Linked DNA regions of Homo sapiens: region 1 is linked to region 2. The links are contacts of gene promoters, found by promoter capture Hi-C in blood cells and fetal thymus (Javierre and others, 2016). All regions are on one chromosome and are shown on one strand. The core of a region is centred on a gene start or on the middle of the fragment in contact, and the rest is flanking DNA. Distances in the headings are between cores, read along the strand shown. Region 1 has its middle 51 kb from the start of EYA4. Region 2 holds the start of EYA4-AS2 (EYA4 antisense RNA 2).

The links. The method cuts DNA at HindIII sites, captures the fragments that hold promoters and counts their contacts. A CHiCAGO score of 5 or more calls a contact.
Region 1: a contact is called between a fragment that was not itself captured here and the fragment with the promoter of EYA4-AS2 in region 2, in 1 of 17 cell types (erythroblasts). The highest score is 5.0, in erythroblasts.

Annotation. Positions count from the first base shown.
Region 1 is chr6:133,187,079-133,192,694 of GRCh38, forward strand. No RefSeq gene overlaps it. Among named protein-coding and RNA genes, the nearest start is that of EYA4, 51 kb to the right of the region's middle. The HindIII fragment of the contact is 1,007 bases long and covers 2,235-3,241 here.
Region 2 is chr6:133,453,685-133,459,067 of GRCh38, forward strand. It overlaps EYA4-AS2 (EYA4 antisense RNA 2), which reads right to left and starts at 2,921. Exons shown (of 3, transcript NR_199014.1): 1 at 2,850-2,921. EYA4 (EYA transcriptional coactivator and phosphatase 4) reads left to right here. Exons shown (of 20, transcript NM_004100.5): 6 at 2,872-2,964. The HindIII fragment of the contact is 6,300 bases long and covers 819-5,383 here.

The sequences.
Region 1 (5,616 bases), core at 1,488-3,987, 270 kb before region 2:
TAACCCTGCAGTTACATTAGAATGTTTTATTGCTTCTACTTGGTAGGCATTCTTCTTTATTGTAATCCTAAATGTAATTAATTTGTAATCTTAAGACTAGTGAACAATTTGGCTTCATCAAAACAAAATGTTTGCTATTATCAAATATTAAAATTCAATTAGAAAACACTGAAAAAACTATTCCCCCTCCTTTTCTGTGTCTGAGATCAATTTTGCTTATCTCAGTGGTGGCTAATAACGTTAGCTCCTAACAAATTGCATTTCTGTATAAGGTTTCTTTCTGTGTGTTCTTTGCGTGTTGGGGGTGGGGGTGGGTTTTCATTTTACTAAACAGTTTTTGTTTCTATTTTCTTTCTTTTTCTCATACATGAGCTAAAATCTCTCCAGATTTGGTCATAGATGAAAATCTAAGGATGATGTCTGAAGTGTAGATGGGTATTTGGAAAATATATGACTTACAGTGGTAAAATTTGTTTTTGAGCAATGTTCATAAAGTATCACAGTGTTAGAAATAATGCTGAATTCAGAACTAGAGGAAAAAAAACGTGTGGTGAAATAGCTGATAGATAGTTTAAATATAAGAATGTCTGCATATTGAGTACTCTTGTTTTCTTTAATAAAAGCATAACATGTAAGTTAAAGAGCAGGTTATCATAAATAAATCCAAGACAAAAGAAGAGAAATACCAAACCACTGGCTCACTCCCTGTTCCTCATGAGTGCCCTTGGCTGCCCCAACTCCTACATAATTTCTAAGGCCCAGCAGAGACTTCTCTGCCCAAATCTGAACCTATCCCTCTTTCCCCTCAACTTTGCCATGTCTTCCATATCCTGCCTAGGTCAGGTGACCTTCTTCTACACATTCTAATTCCCCTACCATACCTAATCATTGCACTTGCAAGTTTTATTTATGTGTTTACTGCATATCTCTTTGTTTCCAACTAAATTGTAATCTTCTTGAAGGTAGAATTGCCTTGTCATCTTTACATCCTCAGTGTTTCATATAATGCTTGTCTAAAAGTCAAGAAATGAAAGAATGCATATCTAAACCACAATTTCCACTACTAAAACCTAACTATTCATAAGCGCAGACTCAAACACAGTTATGGTCGGTTTGGCTAGTGAATAGTAACCATATGAAAAGATGAGGGCTGATGAAAGAATGATAACTTGGTTTTTCTAGGATCACACACTCAGGGTTCAGGGAGGAAGCAGTAAATGAGTCATGTAGCTTTGAAAAAAAGGATAGAAGCTGGATCTACAGAAAGCAGCCAATGCTCAGCTTCAGTCAGCTTTTTAGCATGAGGGGATACAAGTGGAGTGTTTGTTGCCAGAGCTGAAGACTTTTTAAGTAATTGCAAAATTTAGATTTTTTTAATGTAAAATTTTCTAGATCTTAAATTATAGCTTGACATTTCTAAAAACATCCTGTGAGCCAAGAAAATATGTGAACAAACTGTAGATGACATGTGGGGCTATCCATGACCTCTAAGTAGAGAGAAGATGACATAACCATCTTCCTTAGATTAAAACGGAAACAAGAATAATGAAAACCCTTTCTGTCAAATTGGAAAAATACATTTATATTCTTATTTACATTTGCGTACGTTTAATTTTACACTCAAACTTATATGCAAACTTATACTTTATAGTTATATTCTTATTTAAATGTATACTTATATGGCCAGACTTGGTAGGTTTCGGTTCAAAATGAAGAAACTGAAGGGCAGTTTAGACCTAGATGGCAACAAGAAGAGTACGATTGTAAAAATGCCGACCTTATTACTTGGGTTTCAATCCAAGTTTTTAGGCAGCTTATTTTTCTGACCTTTAAAACCACCTTTGAATTTCTGATAAACACAGAACTAAGCTGAAAAGAAAAGGTATTTACAACATCACCTTTGGATAACTTTAAAGCTGCTCAAGTATTTTTGCAGTGACAGATTGGGATGGAATGCTGGGAAAATAACAGCACTGGAAACAAAGCAGACGGGTTTTATCTCAACTTTTTATATCCAACTGAAGCACACTTCACCTGTGAATAGTGATTATTAAGTTTCTTTCAAGGGAAGGGGGCCTGTAATTCACAAATGCTGCAGGTGTGAACTCCTAGGAGGCTTTTCTCCAACTGAAAGGACGTTAATCATTATTCATGGGTGAGATAGTCCATTTATTCCACAGCAGAGAAAGAATTCCTTTTTTATCTTCTTAAAACATGAGACCTTCAATTTTATAAGCTTCACAACAATAAAAGATTCCCTCTTAGAATTACATTTATTGGAGGTTGTTCTTATATTGTGCTCGTTTTTTAAATACTTGAATTTCTTGGAGTTACTAAAATGTCAGTAAGAGTGTGTAGTTTAAATAGTAATTAATTACTTATTCAACAAAATTTCCATAGGCATCTGGTTATTCTAGACCAATATTATCAATGCCTATGAATAGGAAATAAATTTTATCAAAATGAAATCCAAAAGAGTGGTTGTATTGGATTTTGTTTGTGTCAAGTGTTGCTTCAAGTAAGCGAGTCACTGGCTGAGTTTAGAAATCTTTTGGCTGCATAGAGATAATATATTTGTTGTGAAAATCAACTGACAGTGTAGATTCACAAACATCATATTTCTTGACAAGCTGTTAGCGAATATTCTTATTTTATTCCTCACTCCATACATTTCACTAATTTTCTGTTCATTTTTTTGAATATTGAAAATTTATTAAGATATGTATATATTTTTACAAACATATGGCTAGTCTTTTTGCTTTCAAGCAATGGTGTGCACATGATATAAATTCTTGCAGTTCATATGTGCATCTGAATGATGGTGCAGGAAAATCAGATATTGTAAAAGTATAGAATCATTTTTAATTTGCCTTTAACACTTGTTATCATGCTAGATTCCAAAACAAACAAACAAACAAACAAACTTTACTACCTAACTAGATTATGTTCAGAGAATACGCTGTGTAAACAAAGAGATTATTTCTTTCCTACTGAGGTATGGGCTGTATGGAAAATATAATTGAGAAATTCGAGAAATTCAAGAAATTCAGCCATGTCAAGCAACAGATAGGTGGACAAAATTATAGCAGATATTGGAAGTTAAACTGTAAACATTAAATGAACAAATGTGACAACTAAATAGCTGCCTTATTCAATTTAGTCAGCTTATCTACTTATACAGCAAAACCGTAAGTTAAATTTATCCAACTTTCAGTAATGTTTCACTATAAAACCAAAATGAAGCTTCAATTATAAATTTGGGTAGAAAAGATAGTGAGGTTATGGCTTAGGTTCATCCTGAAAAAGACAAAATCTGCTCTGTGGTTCAAATCTATAGAAATTGTATCTTGGAGTAAGTCTCATATAAATAGAAAATCTATCTAGTTTTTATTTCTTTGGTTTTTCAATTTTATTTGGAAAATTTTCCCCAATATAGCTAATACACAAGTAAAAGTTAAGGCAAATTAGTGAGAAGATTATCAATTCTTTTCCATGGGCGGGGAGAATAGGAAATATAGCTGCACAAGTACAAATAGCATACATTTTTCGTTCATTGGAAAGACATGAATCTCAGCCTTTTCTACCACGTATTGGAGTGAAACATCAACTTACTGTCATGGGGGAGAATGGCTTCCTATATTCTATCAATCATCTGGGTGAAGAATTACAACATACTCCTATGGCTATGGCCAGTCATAAGGACCTAAATGTGGAGACAACTCATAAATAATAAACCATCCAATTATTTGACAAGGTCTTTCTATTTGCTAAGAAAACTTGCCCATCAAAATCTGTAGAGAATTGAACTATCTTCTCCAAAGGCAAAGACAAGTCAGACACTGCAGACCCTCATGTACCTCAGCTGTAAAATACATGCAATTGCAAGGTCCATCTCAGTTGACCTCTGACTCCTTAGCTTCAAGTGGCTTCTTGTTGTCATTACTGGATTGTGGTGGTTTCTTCCTTAGCTCTGTAGTACAGCTTCTTCACTCCACATGAAACATGTTTACTGCCTCTCTCCCACTTGCTGTCTTCACTGTGTGAACTGAGTCTATTTTTAGGTCCTGCCTATTCTTCTGTCTCAGTCTTGGTCCTCAGAGAAGACCACCACCCAGGTCGGAGAGCTGTCAAAACAACTCACCAGTATCTGAGGTACACTTTCCCAGTCACTGAGAAATCGACTTCCATTAAAAAGCAAATTCGGGAAGGGAAAATGTATTTCACTGTTACATCTTTCCAAGCTTCACCATATCCCAACACAAATGAACTGGATTGTTAAATTTAAACACTGGGTCTGTATTCCTCCAGAATCGTAGGAGGAACAGTGCCTCCCAAAAACTTTCTCAAAGTGAAGGAGAAATTGCTCTCAAATGCTAGTTATAAATGTGTAATCTGAACTCCAGCCACTCTACGGGGCAGCAGAAGAATTTATGATGTGCTAAATATTTCCTTTGTTCTTCCCAGTGGTAGCCTGCTGTAGCAATTAGAAAGCAACTGGCTCCACATAGAAACTGCTAGAATTTTCTCAAGAATTGTTGATAACTGTTCAACAGGCTCAGTGAACAGGATTTTCTTATTGTGCAGAATTCAGATTTTTAATTTCCTTTCAAGGTCCTATTTTCTAAAATATTTTCTAAATTTTTCTTCCTTCTTCCCTGCTGCCTTTCCATTGCCCCCTTTATAAGGAGAGAAGAGAGGTCAAGATGACTGCTGTAAACCAATGGAAGCCCAAGGTCTTCGACTTCTAACACTGCAATCCTTTTTAAAGCCATATAAAGGTCCTTTGTGTTGCTATCAAAAACACCTCTGACCTCCTCTTTCTTGTTTTCATATAAAGTGACAGCTCTGTCCCATCCTTCATAAAAAGGCAAAAAAAAAAAAAAAAAAAAAAACCCTGCCAATACCATCCTTCTTCAGAAGCCAGACACTATTAATCATCAGCAGGAGGCAGTATGGCTTCAATTAGCTACACAGTGTTCAATAAATTCTCAGTTATTCTGAGTGTGTGTGTGTGTGTGTGTGTGTGTGTGTGTGTGTGGTGGTGGCCTTAGTGCTGGACAATGTTCTATCTGCTTTACATGGATTAATTCTGTGAAGATGGTGCTATTACTATGCCCATTTCAGAACTGAAGAGATAGAAATACAGAAAAGCTAAATAATGTGCTCAAAATCACACAGCTCATTAGTGGCAGAGCTGAAAATAGTTCCAAAGTAAAGGTCCCTGACTGAGAGAGCAAATGTCTTTGAAAGGCAATTTGGCAGCATGGGTGAGGGCCAGATTGTAACATCTGCCACTCACTCAGGCTATGTAATCCCAAGCAAGTTACATAACCTCTGTGTGCCTCAGATTCATGGTCTACATAATGGAGTAACAGTAGTACCCAGCTCACAGAGTGTTTGTGAAGATTAAATGAGAAATACATATTAAGCGCTTAGAACAGTGCTAGGCATATGTTAAGCACTATGTAGAGGTTATGTTTTATAATCCACACCAGTTTTTCAAAGAGTAAGTCTTAGTATATACAGAAAATTAGCTGCCTCGGTATCTCCACTCTCTTTATTTAATAGGTATGACTCACCAAGCTAGTTGGAAGAGATGAGATGAATGAGATACCG
Region 2 (5,383 bases), core at 1,671-4,170:
TTTCTACTTTTCCATTTTGTTCTACCCTTGCATAGGAAAAACAATTTTACATTAACATGTACCACTTCCCCTCAAATGTTAGCATCCATTACTTTAAAATTCAGGCATTTTAGTAAAGCTAACACATCTTGCTTGTTACTCCTCTCTTCATATACTTTCCCAGGGATGGCTTTTCTCAGTAAAATGAACTTCCTTTGTCTATCTTTGACTAAAAGCAAACCTTTAAAATTTTAATGAGAGATGTTTCCAGTATAATGAATTAGACCAAAAACTCACTCTCTCCTTCTTCTTTCTCCTTTTGACCTCCCCAAACTTTCAAATTGAAGAGATTATAATCAAAATCAATACTAAGCTTTTGAAATTGGGTCTCAAAGTTGAAATTCAAAGTAACAAAACTAATCTTCATGTCTGGCTTCTAGACCAGTTTCGTTAGACACAGCTCACATTCTGCCACCTCCATTCGCAAGTAAAATCTATATTACAATTAGTATAATAAAGCTACTTTTGCAAATATTGTTCGTAGATATAGATATGCATAAATAGGAATTTAGCTGCAAGTAGAAGTCAGAAGCTCTGATAAACTGTTTCTTAGTTTTGCTGAAGGCTTTGGGCCATGACTTTTTGTCATAAATGTTAGAACTCAATTGTAAACATTGCGTGAAATGGAGTAGCCTTGATACCCATCTAGATTATACTCTGCATTATCTTCATACAGACAAAAGGAATTCTTGATTAGCTAGTGCTGCCTGAGAGGCAGTATGGTTTAAGAGTTTGGATTCTGAACACACACTACTTGGTCTCAAATTCTAGCTCTTACAAGCTTTGTGACTGGGGACGTTATTTAACCTTTTTGTGCCTCAGTTTCCTTATCTGAAAAATAAAGATGATGATATTATCTACTGACTGTTGAGAGGAGTAAATCAGTAGGTGTAAAGGACAAGAGAAGTGCCTGGAATGTATCAAGTTCATTTTAAGGGTGTGCTGTTACTGTTACCTAATTTCAAATTTGCTACTTCTTGATGTCTTTTAAAATATCCCATGAGGAAGAAATGGGAAACATGCCTTAGTATCCTATTCCAGTATTTTGCAGTTTTTATTTTCAGTGAAGTATTTTTAATTATTCTATCTAGGAGATAATTGCATTCTCATCATGCTTTGGGCCTTTGAGAAGAGACACTGTCATGAGCATAAGCTATTTTCGTACCTGAAGGCAGCCTGATACGGTGGAAAGATCCTGCATACTAGAGCTAAAAACCTGAGTTCAAATCTTAGCTCTACCGTCTCCTGCACTGGAACTTATGCAGGCTTTTCAGCCCCCCTGAACTTCAGTTTCCTTGTCTATAAAATGGTTATAGTGATTTGTATTAATTAGAGTTGTTTTAAGGATTAGCTAAATGTACATCATCTAGCACGTAGCAAGCTCTCAATAAGTATTAGTTTTATAGTAGTAAATATAAAGGTGATAAAATGATTTTATAATGATAGGTTTAGTTATTGATAAGGTATAACCATAATAGGGATTACTGTGCAAATTACTACTGAAAAGTAATAACCACCAATTCATTATTTATCATTATATAAATAATTAGACTACTCTTCAGATCATTGTTGCTCTTGAAAGATAAGTCAAACTTGAGTTTGCTTTTTTGCTAAGAAAAGTAATCCAAGTTTCTTTACTTTCTGTTTCCAACATTTACATTTCTCCTCTGAATCTTCCAGCTGATCATGTCATTAATAAATAATGGATACTAAATTAACCCAGAGCTCACTGAAGGTCTGGTTAATTCTGTTCATGTGGAAAAGAGCATAATCATTACCGCATGGTTTTCTATCAATTAATTTCTTTTCTAACAGAATAACATTACTGACTTGTGTGATTGGTGGGTACCCTATGACTGACTGTTCTTTTTTGTCCTTTGGCTAGTCTTCAGCTTTCTTCTTTATAATTTTCTGCTTGCTTCTAAGTTATTTAACTGTATCATTCATTTCACTTATGACCAGGAAACACAAGAGGTGTTAAGTAGAAAATAGCTTAGTTTATTTCCTTGCTGCTATGATATATGTAGTAAAGCCTTGCCAACAAAGGGAAAATATGGTGTGACCAAATGGGTAAAACTTTATTCTCACGCCCCATCACCCTTGTTGCATCTAATAATGATAATAATGTGTACTAGGCCACTTTGTTACCAAGCAAAGATTTTGCCAAAATACACCATTACCACGTAGAAATAACATATTAAAATGAGTTTTCAAAAGGTGTACTTGCTGCTGTAGAAGTCATCTCTTTTTCTACGCTTATCTCTAAACATATTAAAAATTGTTATGCCATTAAAGTATGAAGCCCAACACCTTATAGCTCGTGAGTCTTTTTTAGAGCTTCATTGAGTGCTTCATTTTTCATTCATTGTGTGAATGAGCCCATGGTTTCTATACTTTTATATGTCTCCATTGTATTATTATGCAAACTTAAAAAATATCTTCCTGGGAAAAATAAAATATAAGCTAGTAAATTTCTTTGGTATAATTTTAATTAAATGTGCTGAAGACTGATGATGATTCCTTCTTTCCTATTGACTATATGAGAGTGTGTTTAGGTGAATTAAAAATACAAATATGTGTACTGCTGTTTCACTTTTTAAGGCTGACTGCCTTTAAAAGCTGGATTTGAGAGAACTAGCTTGGCCAGAGGATTTTAGATTAAATCCTCTAAATGCATGCCCGTTTAGAAGCTAAATTAACAAACTCTCTTCATCAACTTCTCAGGTTTTCTCTTGCATGCCCATGGTAGCTAGAAATATCACTAGTAGAACGGACAGAGTCTTTGACATAAATTTAGAAGTAAAACTCACATGTACTTATTCTTCTACGTAGTGTCTCTTCTTGCAGTCAAAACAGAGCCCTTGAACAGCAGTGAAACCACAGCCACGACTGGAGATGGAGCGCTTGACACTTTTACTGGGTCAGGTAAAGCCTTTAGCTCGTGTGTCCTTACGTACACATGGGGGTGCATCCACATCCTCCTCCTCGGGAATAAGCAACATAAGCATCCAAGCTCTTAGAACTTTGATCCTTATAAAGTTAGAAACAAATTCTTATTTTTTGAGAACTCATAGTCATAGCAGTATGCATTGTTATAAATTATATTTAGAATAATTTCGCTTGATATTTTAGTTGACAGCAAAAGTCCCATGACTTTCTTATTATGGATAAGTAAACTTAACTTCCTTCAAAATTATTTTATACGATGTTTAATTAATTTAATAATTAAGTTGTAGTAGCTGACCTTGCTTCTTCAACTTACCCATTTGAATTACATAAAAACTGCCTTCTGTTTAACATTCGAGATGTAAAACTATCCATTTGATTCCTTCTAAATAACCTTGTTTCCTCTCTGGGTTTAAAAAACTCCTCCTGTGTAAGCAGCTGAGTGACAAGTATTAAAGGTTAATGGGCTGCAGGAGAGCACATGCTGGTTGCATTAGAACCCAGCCTCTGAGAGCGCTCGAATGCTTCAAAGAGAACAATAGCATGTCTTTAAACATCAATCCCTTTAAAATATAAATACCTGATAACTCCCAGCTGGGCACAAAGGGCATGAATTAAGTAGACTTAATTAAATTTTTTTAAGTTACAATATTTCTTCGGCTTTTTATCTGGTGAAAGGATTTTTCTAACCTGAGGAGGATCGGGTACATCAGAAAGAAGAACATTAAACCTAGGAAAGTATTTGTGGTAATTGAATCTCGGTTCTGTTATTCTACTTTAATACATTTTACATTTATCCATGTGCTCATGTTATAAGGATTTTTTTGTCAGTATGTTTTGTGTAAAAATAGTTGAGATATGTCTTAGAGTATTATGTCATTATAGCATATATTTGATTTTTACAGATGATCTAATTTCACTAGTTCACACCGATTAGAAGCAGTTGCCATATATTTACATAAATATTAGTACTCCAAGAAAGAAATAATAGTACATAAACTTTGCACAGAGACTCATATGTACTAATCCACATCTTTTCTAGCAGTTTACCTGCCTCTCAGGAGATAGTTACCAGTTCAGTATTCTGTATTGCACACTTACCATAGCTTTTGTAAACTTTCTGCAAAATAAATCTATATGAACAAATTGTTAAGGAAAGGAATGGAGTTATTAACTTATTGCTGACCTACTTCAGTAGTATACTACAAGTTAATTGAAAGCTGAATGACAAAACTATAAAGTGTTAGCTCCAGAAGGAATTTCAGAGCTCTCTGATCCGTTTTGTAGACAAGAGAAGTTAAAAGTGGTTAAGGCCATACAGTCAAGGCCTCACAGCTGGTCAGTGGTATAAACAAATCTAAAACCATGTCCTTATGATCAGTCCCTGGGTCCTTTCTGTAATGCCCCATCAGAAAATAGATGGAAAAAGAAATAGGCATGAACAATCATCCTGTCTGAAATTCACTCATATTGTCTTTGTAGATATTTTCGCAAATTTTTAAAGAAGTATCTAGGGACGTGCTGTCCAGTAAGGTAGCCACCAGTCATATGTGGTTATTAAAATTTGATAAAATTAAAAATTTTGTTTTTTATTTTCATTTTCACAGCAATATTGCAGTAAGTATATTTTTATTAATTGATTTTGAAAATCATCAAGTACGACTAGAGGCGTTAAGTTCTCAATATTTTCAGCAACCAAAATTTAACTGAATTTTCAAGTTTAAACACATTTCAAGTGTTTAACAGCTGCATGTGGTTAGCAGCTACCATATTGGACAGCTCAGATACAGAACATTTCCAACACTGTGGAAAGTTTTATTCCACAGCAGTGATCCAGGGCAGGGATTATCAACATCAGCACTGTTAAAGACTTGGGCTAATTCTTTAGTGTGGGAAAGCTATCCTCTGCACTGTAAGATGTTTGGCTGCATCTATCCCAGAATGCCAGCAGCACTCCCCCAGATGCTTCTTTACTAAAGAAGCAACCAAAGATGTCTTACTAAAGACAACCAAAAATGTATCCAGACTGTTTAAGTGTCCCCTGGCAGGCAAAATTCTCACCCCCACCCACTTCTCATCCCATTGAGAGTCACCAATCTAAGATGGCACGATAATGAGAATGAAACCTTAAAATTGCTTTGACACCATCAGAGAAACTGACAATAGATATTAAACATGTATTTAAATTAATTTTCAGGGCATTTTGAAAACAAGCAGTTTTGCTTACTGTTGTATGCAGAAATGATGGAATGTAATGAGTGTTTTGGGTAATGTTTATGATTAATCAGATGACAGTGGGGAATAAAACGAAATTCTTTCAAGTTTGTACAAGATATTCCAGAAACCATTCTGGAAATGAGGCTGCCCTTTGTGGGAGCAGTCTTTACTTTGATCTGCA